Linked DNA regions of Homo sapiens: region 2 is linked to region 1. Evidence: promoter capture Hi-C in 16 types of primary human blood cells and fetal thymus (Javierre and others, 2016). All regions are on one chromosome and are shown on one strand. Each heading gives the region's core, a stretch centred on a gene start or on the middle of the fragment in contact. The rest is flanking DNA. Distances are from core to core; before and after follow the strand shown.

Region 1 (5,346 bases), core at 706-3,205:
GGTGTGAGCCATCAGGTAGCTAATATATATATTTTTTGAGATGGAGTCTCACTCTGTTGCCCAGGCTGGAGTGCAATGGTGCGATCTAGGCTCGCTGCAACCTCTGCCTCCCAGGTTTAAGCAGTTCTCCTGCCTCAGCCTACCGAGTAGCTAGGAAGGCTAGGTTTTGTTTTGTTTTGTTTTGTTTTTTAGTAGAGACGAGGTTTTGCCATGTTGGCCAGGCTGGTCTCGAACTCCTGGCCTCAAGTGATTCTCCCAAAGTGCTGAGATTACAGGTGTGAGCCACTGCACCTGGCCTGTTTTTCTGTCTTCACCTTGGTTGCCCGTCTGGTTGGTAGCATTCAACAGTGCTGACCCCCTCGTCCTTCTAGAAGTGCAGCATTTCCTGCCTTGGCCTCTGTGACCCTCTCTCTTTTGGATTTCCACCTACCTCTCTGGCATCTATGTCTCAGCCCCTCCACCTTTCACCTGGACCCTGAGGTCAGGCTCCCTTCTGTCCTCTCGGCTGCTGCCAGAGTGAGCTCTTACAGCTTCAGTTTCCTACTTAAATTCCGCCATGTGGATAAAAAGGTACAAACATGCATAGGTATGTCATGAATTAATTACGGTAAAATGATAATTGTAGAACAGAAGTGGTGGAGATATGGGTGTTCACCGCAATTCTTTCAACTTCTTTGTGCTTTGAATTTTTCATAAAATGAGGCTGTGCATGTTGGCTCACGCCTGTAATCCCAGCACTTTGGGAGGCCAAGGTGGGTGGATCACTTGAGGTCAGAAGTTCGAGACCAGCCTGGCCAACATAGTGAAACCCCATCTCTACTAAAAATACAAAAATTAGCTGGGCGTGGCAGTGAGTGCCCGTAATCCCAGCTACTTTGGAGGCTGAGGCAGGAGGATCGCTTGAACCCGGGAAGCGGAGGTTGCTGTGAGCTAAGATCACACCACTGCACTCCAGCCTGGGCGACAGAGCGAGGCTTTGTCTCAAAATAAAAATTATTTTTTCATGAAATGTTGAGGGAAATCTCCTGCAATGATTCTTTTGTCTTTTTTGATAAAATGCAGGCTTCTCTGCCAACACTCTCGTATCCTCTCCACACACATCATCCTAAATGGGGATGTACCCTTGCTGCTCCCAGTACCTGGAACAGGAACATTCTTCTCAGTGTTCTCCAGCCCTCTATGCCCTCTTACTGTTTTATTTTTTAGACAGGGTCTTGCTCTGTCATCCAGGCTGGAGTGCAGTGTCACCATCATGGCTCACTGCAGCCTCGACCTCCCAGGTTCAAGTGATTCTCCTGCCTCAGTCTCCTGAGTATCTGGGATTACAGGTATGCGCTACCATGCACGGCTAGCGAATTTTTTATGGAGACTGGGTCTCACCATATTGCCCAAGCTGGTCTTGAACTCCTGGGCTGAAGCAATCCTCCCGCCTTCTTTAAACTCATCTCATTGATGCCTTCTCCAGGAAGCCTGTGCTGTTCCCTCAGCAAGAGGCTTCTTACCTGATCCCCCACAGCCTCTCCTACAGCTCAGCAACGGTTTATGGAATGAAAGGCCTCTCTTGAAGCTTTGCAGGCACCTGCCTGCCTGAGGTGTTAGCAAATCTGCAGACCCGCCCTGAGGCCATGTGTCTAGTTACCCTGGTCTCTGAATCACAGATGAGCTCTCATTTCTTCCCACAAATAAACCCTGTGACCCTCCACCCTCTACTCAGAGAACCCGCCCTCAGGTAGTTCCCTGTTTGTGACATACACACACTTAGCCCTGAGGCTGGACTGACAGGCCGACCTGGCTGGTGGACTCCAGCCCAAGCCTGCCAGCTGCCTGCCGGGGTGGGGGCCTTGGCGGGAGAGGACGGGGCCGGGTGGGGAGGAAGGCGGGGCCTGAGGCTGTGCGAGGCGAGTCGGTGTGTCCCTGGCTGGGACGGAAGTTGCACCACAAGTACAATTAGTTTCAGTTTTGTTTCTTTTCCAGGCACCCAGCAACGGCGGCCTCCAGGCCTCAGGCCCCCTCACCATCCTAGAGGTCAAGATCAGCTCTGGCTAGGTAAGGGGTGGGGGGCGGCACAGCTATAGGAAGGACCGAGCGGAGGGAGTAGGGGGAGGGGAGTGGAGAGAGAGCGCGGGAGGAGGAGGAAGGGAAGGAAAGGGAGGGCGTGAAGAGGCACCCGGAAGGCAGGAGGAGAGGGCAGGAGGGAAACTGCACTCGCCTCCCTCCCGCTCCGTGGCCACAGGTCCCCGCAAGAAAGACCCCGTCCCACTCTCTGAGGTCTCCTCCCAGCTCCAGAAAAGGGGACATTCCACCTAGTCTGCCCAACAAGTAGGTCTCAGCCACTGTGCCAGGAGCTCGGGACTCCCTCCCTCCAGAGGTTTCTGGAATGCATTCAGCAGGAAAAGCTAAAAGAACAGGACTCCAGGAGATAAGCCAAGGCCAAGTCTATCAGAGGGTGAGCCAGCAGCGGGAAGGGGACCAGCCCTTCCCCTAGCGTTTTTTCTGCCCGCTCCAGAATCCGCTTTAGAAACTGTTAAATGCAGAAAGTGGGGCCTCCACCACCCGCGATGCTGCCCCAGGTCTAGCAGAAGACAGGTGTAAGGCCAGGCGGGTGCGGTGGCTCATGCCTGTAATCCTAATGCTTTGGGAAGGCCGAGACGGGAGGATAGCCTGAGGCCAGGAGTTGGAGACCAGCCTGGGCAACATAGCAAGACCCCATCTCTACAAAAAGTGATAATTTTTAAAAAATGGGCTGGCTGGGCCCCTGGGCATGGTGGCTCACGCCTATAATCCCAGCACTTTGGGAGACCGAGGAGGGCGGATCACCTGAGGTCAGGAGTTCAAGACCAGCCTGGCCAATAGGGCCAAACTCCATTTCTACTAAACATACAAAAATTAGCCGGGTGTGATGGTGCGCACCTGTAATCACAGCTACTCGGGAGGCTGAGGCAGGAGAATCACTTGAACCTGGCAGGTGGAGGTGGCAGTGAGCCAAGATCGCACCACTGCACTCCAGCCTGGGCAACAGAGTGAGACTCTGTCTCAAAAAAAAAAAAAAAAAAAAAAAAGGCTGGGCATGGTGGCACATGCCTGTACTCCCAACTACTCAAAAGACTTGAGTCTAGGAGTTTGAGGCTGCAGTGAACTACGATCACGCCACTGCACTCCAGCCTGGGTGACAGAGGGTGACCCTATTGCTAAAAACTAAAATAAAATAAAAAGAAGGCAGGTGTATGGGGCTTGGAGGATTAAAGCCCCCTAAGCTACTGCAAGATCCTACCCCAACTGGCAGGACCTAGGCATCTCTGCCCACTGGGATCCCCGTCTGTGTCCTTACTGCCTGCTCCTCGCACCCTGGCACCCTATACAGCAGGACCCCAGTACCTGTGCACACAGGAGGGCTTCCACCATGTTTGCCACAAGGCCTGTGGACTGGGGACACTGAGGATTCGATTATTAGCTAAGGCCAGGGACTCCTGGTCTTGTCAGTTCTCACAGGTCTGACCCAACAAGTAGCACTGACATTTTTACGTTTGCTGGATGTACACACGGAAGTGGAGGAGGAGGAGGAGAAGGAGGAGGGCAGCTCCTTAGCTCAAGAGCAAGTGGCCCAAGGCCTCAGAAGACTAGAAGGAAGTTCCTGGCCATTCAGGTGAGACCTCAGGTTCCTTCCCGGCCATTTGGGTCAGCCCCTAGCCCTGGGGATCCGTGGGGCTTGAGGACGGGCGGTAGAAGCTAGAGGGTGAGCTGGTGAAGGTGCCTTCTCAACTCTGATCCTGACGCCTCTGCCTGCAGCATGGTTTCCCACGGGTCCTCGCCCTCCCTCCTGGAGGCCCTGAGCAGCGACTTCCTGGCCTGTAAAATCTGCCTGGAGCAGCTGCGGGCACCCAAGACACTGCCCTGCCTGCATACCTACTGCCAAGACTGCCTGGCACAGCTGGCGGATGGCGGCCGCGTCCGCTGCCCCGAGTGCCGCGAGACAGTGCCTGTGCCGCCCGAGGGTGTGGCCTCCTTCAAGACCAACTTCTTCGTCAATGGGCTGCTGGACCTGGTGAAGGCCCGGGCCTGTGGAGACCTGCGTGCCGGGAAGCCAGCCTGTGCCCTGTGTCCCCTGGTGGGTGGCACCAGCACCGGGGGGCCGGCCACGGCCCGGTGCCTGGACTGTGCCGATGACTTGTGCCAGGCCTGTGCCGACGGGCACCGCTGCACCCGCCAGACCCACACCCACCGCGTGGTGGACCTGGTGGGCTACAGGGCCGGGTGGTATGATGAGGAGGCCCGGGAGCGCCAAGCGGCCCAGTGTCCCCAGCACCCCGGGGAGGCACTGCGCTTCCTGTGCCAGCCCTGCTCACAGTTGCTGTGCAGAGAGTGCCGCCTAGACCCCCACCTGGACCACCCCTGCCTGCCTCTGGCTGAAGCTGTGCGTGCCCGGAGGCCGGGCCTGGAGGGACTGCTGGCCGGTGTGGACAATAACCTGGTGGAGCTGGAGGCAGCGCGGAGGGTGGAGAAGGAGGCGCTAGCCCGGCTGCGGGAGCAGGCGGCCCGGGTGGGGACTCAGGTGGAGGAGGCGGCTGAGGGCGTCCTCCGGGCCCTGCTGGCCCAGAAGCAGGAGGTGCTGGGGCAGCTACGAGCCCACGTGGAGGCTGCCGAAGAAGCTGCTCGGGAGAGGCTGGCGGAGCTTGAGGGCCGGGAGCAGGTGGCCAGGGCCGCAGCCGCCTTCGCCCGCCGGGTACTCAGCCTGGGGCGAGAGGCCGAGATCCTCTCCCTGGAAGGGGCGATCGCACAGCGGCTCAGGCAGCTGCAGGGCTGCCCCTGGGCACCAGGCCCGGCCCCCTGCCTGCTCCCACAGCTGGAGCTCCATCCTGGGCTCCTGGACAAGAACTGCCACCTTCTTCGGCTGTCCTTTGAGGAGCAGCAGCCCCAGAAGGATGGTGGGAAAGACGGAGCTGGTACCCAGGGAGGTGAGGAGAGCCAGAGCCGGAGGGAGGATGAGCCGAAGACTGAGAGACAGGGTGGAGTCCAGCCCCAGGCTGGAGATGGAGCCCAGACCCCAAAAGAGGAAAAAGCCCAGACAACCCGAGAAGAGGGAGCCCAGACCTTGGAGGAGGACAGGGCCCAGACACCCCACGAGGATGGAGGACCCCAGCCCCACAGGGGTGGCAGACCCAACAAGAAGAAAAAGTTCAAAGGCAGGCTCAAGTCAATTTCCCGGGAGCCCAGCCCAGCCCTGGGGCCGAATCTGGACGGCTCTGGCCTCCTCCCCAGACCCATCTTTTACTGCAGTTTCCCCACGCGGATGCCTGGAGACAAGCGGTCCCCCCGGATCACCGGGCTCTGTCCCTTCGGTCCCCGGGA
Region 2 (5,086 bases), core at 1,239-3,738, 530 kb before region 1:
ATGCCTGGCTAATTTATATATATATATATATATATATATATATATATATATTTCTTTTTTTTTTTTTTTTTGAGACAGAGTCTCGCTCTGTCACCCAGGCTGGAGTGCAGTGGCGTGATCTCGGCTCACTCCAAGTTCCACCTCCCAGGTTCACGCCATTCTCCTGTCTCAGCCTCCCGAGTAGGTGGGACTACAGGCGCCCGCCACCACACCCAGCTAATTTTTTGTATTTTTAGTAGAGACGGAGTTTCACCGTGTTAGCCAGGATGGTCTCGATCTCCTGACCTCGTGATCCGCCCACCTTGGCTCCCAAAGTGCTGGGATTACAGGCGTGAGCCACTGCGCCCGGCCTTAATTTTTATATTTTTTGTAGAAATGAGGTTTCACCACGTTGCCCAGGCTGGTCTGAAACTCCTGGGCTCAAATGATCTGCCTGCCTTGGCCTCGCAAAGTGCTGGGATTACAGGCGTGAGCCACCGTGCCCGGCCTTGTTTCATGATTTATATGTACAGTCAGCCCTCTGTATCTGTAGATTCTGCAACCATGGATCCAATCAACCTCACATCAAAAATATTTGGGAAAATAGGCCAGGCAAGGTGGCTCACGCCTATAATCCCAGCACTTTGGGAGGCTGAGGTGGGCAGACCACTTGAGGTCAGGAGTTCGAGACTAGCCTGGCCAACATGGTGAAACCCCGTCCCTACTAAAAATACAAAAAAAATTAGCTGGGTGTGGGGGTGGACACTTGTAATCCCAGCTACTCTGGAGGCTGAGGCAGGAAAATTGCTTGAACCCAGGAGGCGGAGGTTGCAGTGAGCTGAGATCATGCCACTGTACTCCAGCCTGGGCAAAGAGAGAGAGACTGTCTCAAAAAAAAAAAAAAAAAAAAAAAAAAGTAGGGAACACAAAAAATAACAATACAACAATAAAAAATAATACAAATAAGGCCAGGTGTGGTGGCTCATGCCTGTAATCCCAGCACTTTGGGAGACCGAGGCGGGTGGATCACAGGGTCAGGACTAGTTCAAGACTAGCCTGGCCAAGATGGTGAAACCCCGTCTCTACTAAAAATACAAAAAATTAGCCAGGCATGGTCATGGGCACCTGTAATCCGAGCTACTCAGGAGGCTGAGGCAGAGAACTGCTTGAACCCGGGAGGCAGTGGTTGCAGTCAGCTGAGATCGTGCCACTGTACTCTAGCCTGGGTGACAGAGTGAAACTCCGTCTCAAAAAAAAAATAATAATACAAATAAAAAGCAATACAATATAGCAACTATTGCATGGCATTTACATTGTATTAGGTATTATAAGTAACCTAGAGATGATTTAAAGTATATTGGAGGATATACATATTTGATGCAAATACTTCACCATATTATATAAGAGACTTGAGTGTCCCGTCCTCTGATTATGGAATTGTCAGGGGGATCCTGGAACCAGTTCCCTGAGGATACCATGGGACAACTATATTTTGTCTTCCTGATGAAGGAAACAGCATCTCCATTCTCCCTTACCTTTCCTCTCCCCTGGTATCACTTCTTGTGGGATCTCTGGGGTGTGTACATGTTGGGAGGTAACTGTGAGGTAGAGAAGAGAATGCAGAGAACAAAGAGATTGATGTGGATAAGACCACACTGTGGAGTCCCTCCTAGGGATGTCCTCAGGATTAAGCTGACACTTACAGAGTAGGGGCCACATACACTGTAGTGGAAGGGAATTGTCCCGGCAGGAGCTGGCAGGATGGAAGTGTGGATTGTGAGCACCTAGAGGATGAGGCGGCAGGCAGCTTTTCTATGGAGCTGAGAAGAAGGAGTCTGAAGAAACACCCAGGAAATAAAAGAGGGGGACCTTTGCCAGGTGTGGTGGCTCATGCCTGTAATCCCAGAACTTTGGAGGCTAAGGCAGGAGGATCACCTGAGGCCAAGAGGTTGAGACCACCCTGGGCAACATAGTGAGACCTCTTCTCTACAAATAATTAAAAAATTAGCCAGGCATGGTAGCATGTACTTGTTTGTGGTCCCAGCTACTTGGGAGGCTGAGGCAGGAGAATCACTTGAGCCTAGGTAGTTAAGGCTGTGTTGAGCCAACATTGCCCCACTGCACTCCACCCTGGGCAACAGCGAGACCCTGTCTCAAAAAAACCAAAAGATGTTCAAGGGGATGCTCAAGATAGGCAGAACTTTGCTAAGTTGCTCGGTTCCCTTCAAAAAAGGGAATCAGTAGAGAAAAATGAGCATAGATTTTGACTCCTGTGTCTTCCCAAACATCTCAGCTGAGCGTGGTCCAAAGTTTTATCCCTCTCTTTACAGCCTAACTATTCTTTCTCAAAGGTATGTCCCCCCAGACCAAGTCAAGGGGCCCACTTATACCAAAGGCAGTGCCTCCACCCCTGTGCAGGGCTCCATCCCAGAAGGGAAGCCCCTTCGGACACTTCTGGGTGATCCTGCACCGTCTCTCTCAGTTGCTGCCTCCACCTCGAGCCAGGTAACTCTCAGATCTGCTCGTCATGTTTCTTTTGAGATTTGGGAGACAGGAGTGTCAGTTTCCTGAATCAGATTCCCCGGACTTAGCAGACAACAGTGCAGGAGCTGTGAGTTGGGTCTCGGCTCTGCTGTTAACCTGTATCTTGTATTTGTCACTTCTGGACCTCATATCTTTTGGAAGTCAGAACCTAACAGGAAGTGGTATTTAGGAAAGTCAGAATATCAGCTCCAAACCTGAGCATTCCATCAAAGAAACACAGAAGGGGCTGGAATATGGTGTCCAATACCTGGGAAGGTTGAGGAGTAACAGCCCTGGGGGCAGTATTGGGCAGTATTCCTGTATATCTCAGGGTTACCTTGGCTCATGTGCTGTAAAATGTGTGGTTCTTGGAGCAGGTGTACTGAGAAGATGAGGATGATATGAGCTCTGAGAGGGGCTAAGGCAGCTCCTGCCCAGGAATCTTCTAGGTTGAGGGCAGTTACTCACTGTCTTCTCTCTCTACCTGCCTATCTGAGGGCAACCTGGGGAGCCAGAGGAGGGCCTGGGGCATGTCTGGGATTCTAAGGGCTGTATGCATTCCTTCTCCTCCAAGCCCGTCAGTCAGTCTCACGCTCGGACATCCCAGGCCCGGAGCACTCAGCCACCTCCCCACTCCTCTGTCAAAAAAGCCAGTACTGACCTGCTGGCTGACATCGGTGGAGACCCCTTTGCTGCACCCCAGATGGCACCAGCTTTTGCTGCATTCCCTGCCTTTGGGGGTAAGTGGGTTTTGGGATGGGACCCTCCCTACAGCGTATATGCTTACAACATGAGAGATCCAGTCCCTGGAGGTAACCATGGCTCTAGATCTTCTCATGCAAACAAATGTGAGGGTCACTCTGAAGCAGTGAGGCTGGGAGGACTGGGGTCAAATAAGTACAGCCAGGATTATGTTTGGGGGTTTGATCCTAAAACATTATAGTTGAGGGCTCCTAGCACTTCCTTTTAGAACACTGGAAATAGCCTTTTTTATTATTTTCTGTCTCTGTTAAAATGGGAGGAGGGGGATTATCATGTGTTCCAGTTCACCAAAGATTATTCTTCCCCCAAATCAGCAATAGCCAGTAGAGGGTTCAGCAGCATAGAATCTGTTTTCCCTTTTTAAAAATTTTCAAGCCAGACACAGTGGCTCACACCTGTAATCCTAGCATTTGAGAGGCTGAGGTGGGCAGATCACCTGAGGTCAGGAGTTCAAGACCAGTCTGGCCAACATGGTGAAACCTCATCTCTACTAAAAAGAAAAAAAAAATTAGCCAAGTGTGGTGGCATGTGCCTGTAGTCCCAGCTACTTGGGAGGCTAAGGCAGGAGAATTGCTTGAACCTAGGAGGTGGAGGTTGCAGTGAATCACAATTGCATCACTGGACTCCAGCCTAGGTGACAGAGTGAGACTCCGTCTCAAAAAAAAAAAAAAAAAAAAAAAAATTCAAGCTCCTTCCTCCATGAAAAAAAATTTTCATGCTCCAAACTAGGCCCTGACAAAAATGTTAATGCCTCATGGAGTAAGGACAGAAGAGGGCAGGGAGTGAACCTGGAGGCCCTGGGTGCCCCTGTTCCCCTGTGTGGGTCTGGCTCTTGGCCCCAGGCCCCACCCATTTCCCTCTGAAGAGAACCCTGTGGAAAGGCAGATGTCCCATAAGAGTGGCCTTTGGCCTTTAGAATTAGTAGCTATATTACATGGATAGGCATATACATTTTCTTTTCTTTTTCTGTTGTGTGTGTGTGGTTTTTTTTTTTTTTTTTTTTTTTTTTTTGAGTCAGAGTCTCATTCTGTCACCCAGGCTAGAGTAGAGTGGCACAATCTCGGCTCACTGCTAGCTCCACCTCCCAGGTTTAAGCAATTCTCATGCCTCAGCCTCCAAGGTAGCTGGGATTACAGGCATGTACCACCACGCCCAGCTAATTTTTATATTTTTAGTAGAGACAGATTTCACCATGTTGACCAGGCTGGTCTTGAACTTCTGACCTCAAGTGATCTGCCCACCTCGGCCTCCCAAAGTGCTGGAATTACAGGCGTGAGCTACCACACCCGACAATTTTCTATATAACCTTTATGTTTCTTCCACCTACAGGCCAGACACCTTCCCAAGGAGGCTTTGCCAACTTTGATGCCTTTAGCAGTGGCCCCAGCTCTTCTGTGTTTGGAAGCCTCCCTCCAGCTGGTCAAGCCTCGTTCCAGGCCCAGCCAACTCCTGCAGGTAAACTCTGCCCCACTGGCTTCCTTTCTCTTCCAACCGTGTCCATTTGTTCATGTCTATAAATCACCATTCATATCCTCACTATCCTAAAGAACTGCTCAAAGCAGCAAAGCACAAAGAGAAGCAGCTCCAGGAGAGGATGAGCGTGTCTGACACATTCTTGTCAGGGAGAGGGGGCTCTACTGTTCTGCTTTTTCATGAAAGGAAAATGACTAAGATTGCAGCAGGAGCTGTGTGGGTTATACACTAGGAAACTTTTCACTAGGAAGTATGGAAGACCTGAGTCCTAGAAAAATTGAAAATGGACGTGACTTTTTCTCTAAGGTGCTCTTGTCTGCATAGTACGCTGTCCCAAAGGGTCAAGGGT

What was found. Contacts are between HindIII fragments. The CHiCAGO score rates a contact against its expected background, and 5 or more counts as called.
Region 2: a contact is called between a fragment that was not itself captured here and the fragment with the promoter of TRIM56 in region 1, in 1 of 17 cell types (neutrophils). The highest score is 5.5, in neutrophils.

What each region holds. Positions count from the first base shown.
Region 1 is chr7:101,083,526-101,088,871 of GRCh38, forward strand. It overlaps TRIM56 (tripartite motif containing 56), which reads left to right and starts at 1,956. Exons shown (of 3, transcript NM_030961.3): 1 at 1,956-2,046; 2 at 3,481-3,643; 3 at 3,787-5,346. The coding sequence starts at 3,788. RefSeq lists enhancers at 313-813, 1,517-1,566, 3,648-4,288, 4,289-4,928. The HindIII fragment of the contact is 9,878 bases long and covers 1,566-5,346 here.
Region 2 is chr7:100,551,017-100,556,102 of GRCh38, forward strand. It overlaps AGFG2 (ArfGAP with FG repeats 2), which reads left to right. Exons shown (of 12, transcript NM_006076.5): 4 at 2,331-2,484; 5 at 3,077-3,242; 6 at 4,594-4,719. Among named protein-coding and RNA genes, the nearest start is that of AGFG2, 14 kb to the left of the region's middle. The HindIII fragment of the contact is 8,538 bases long and covers 1-5,086 here.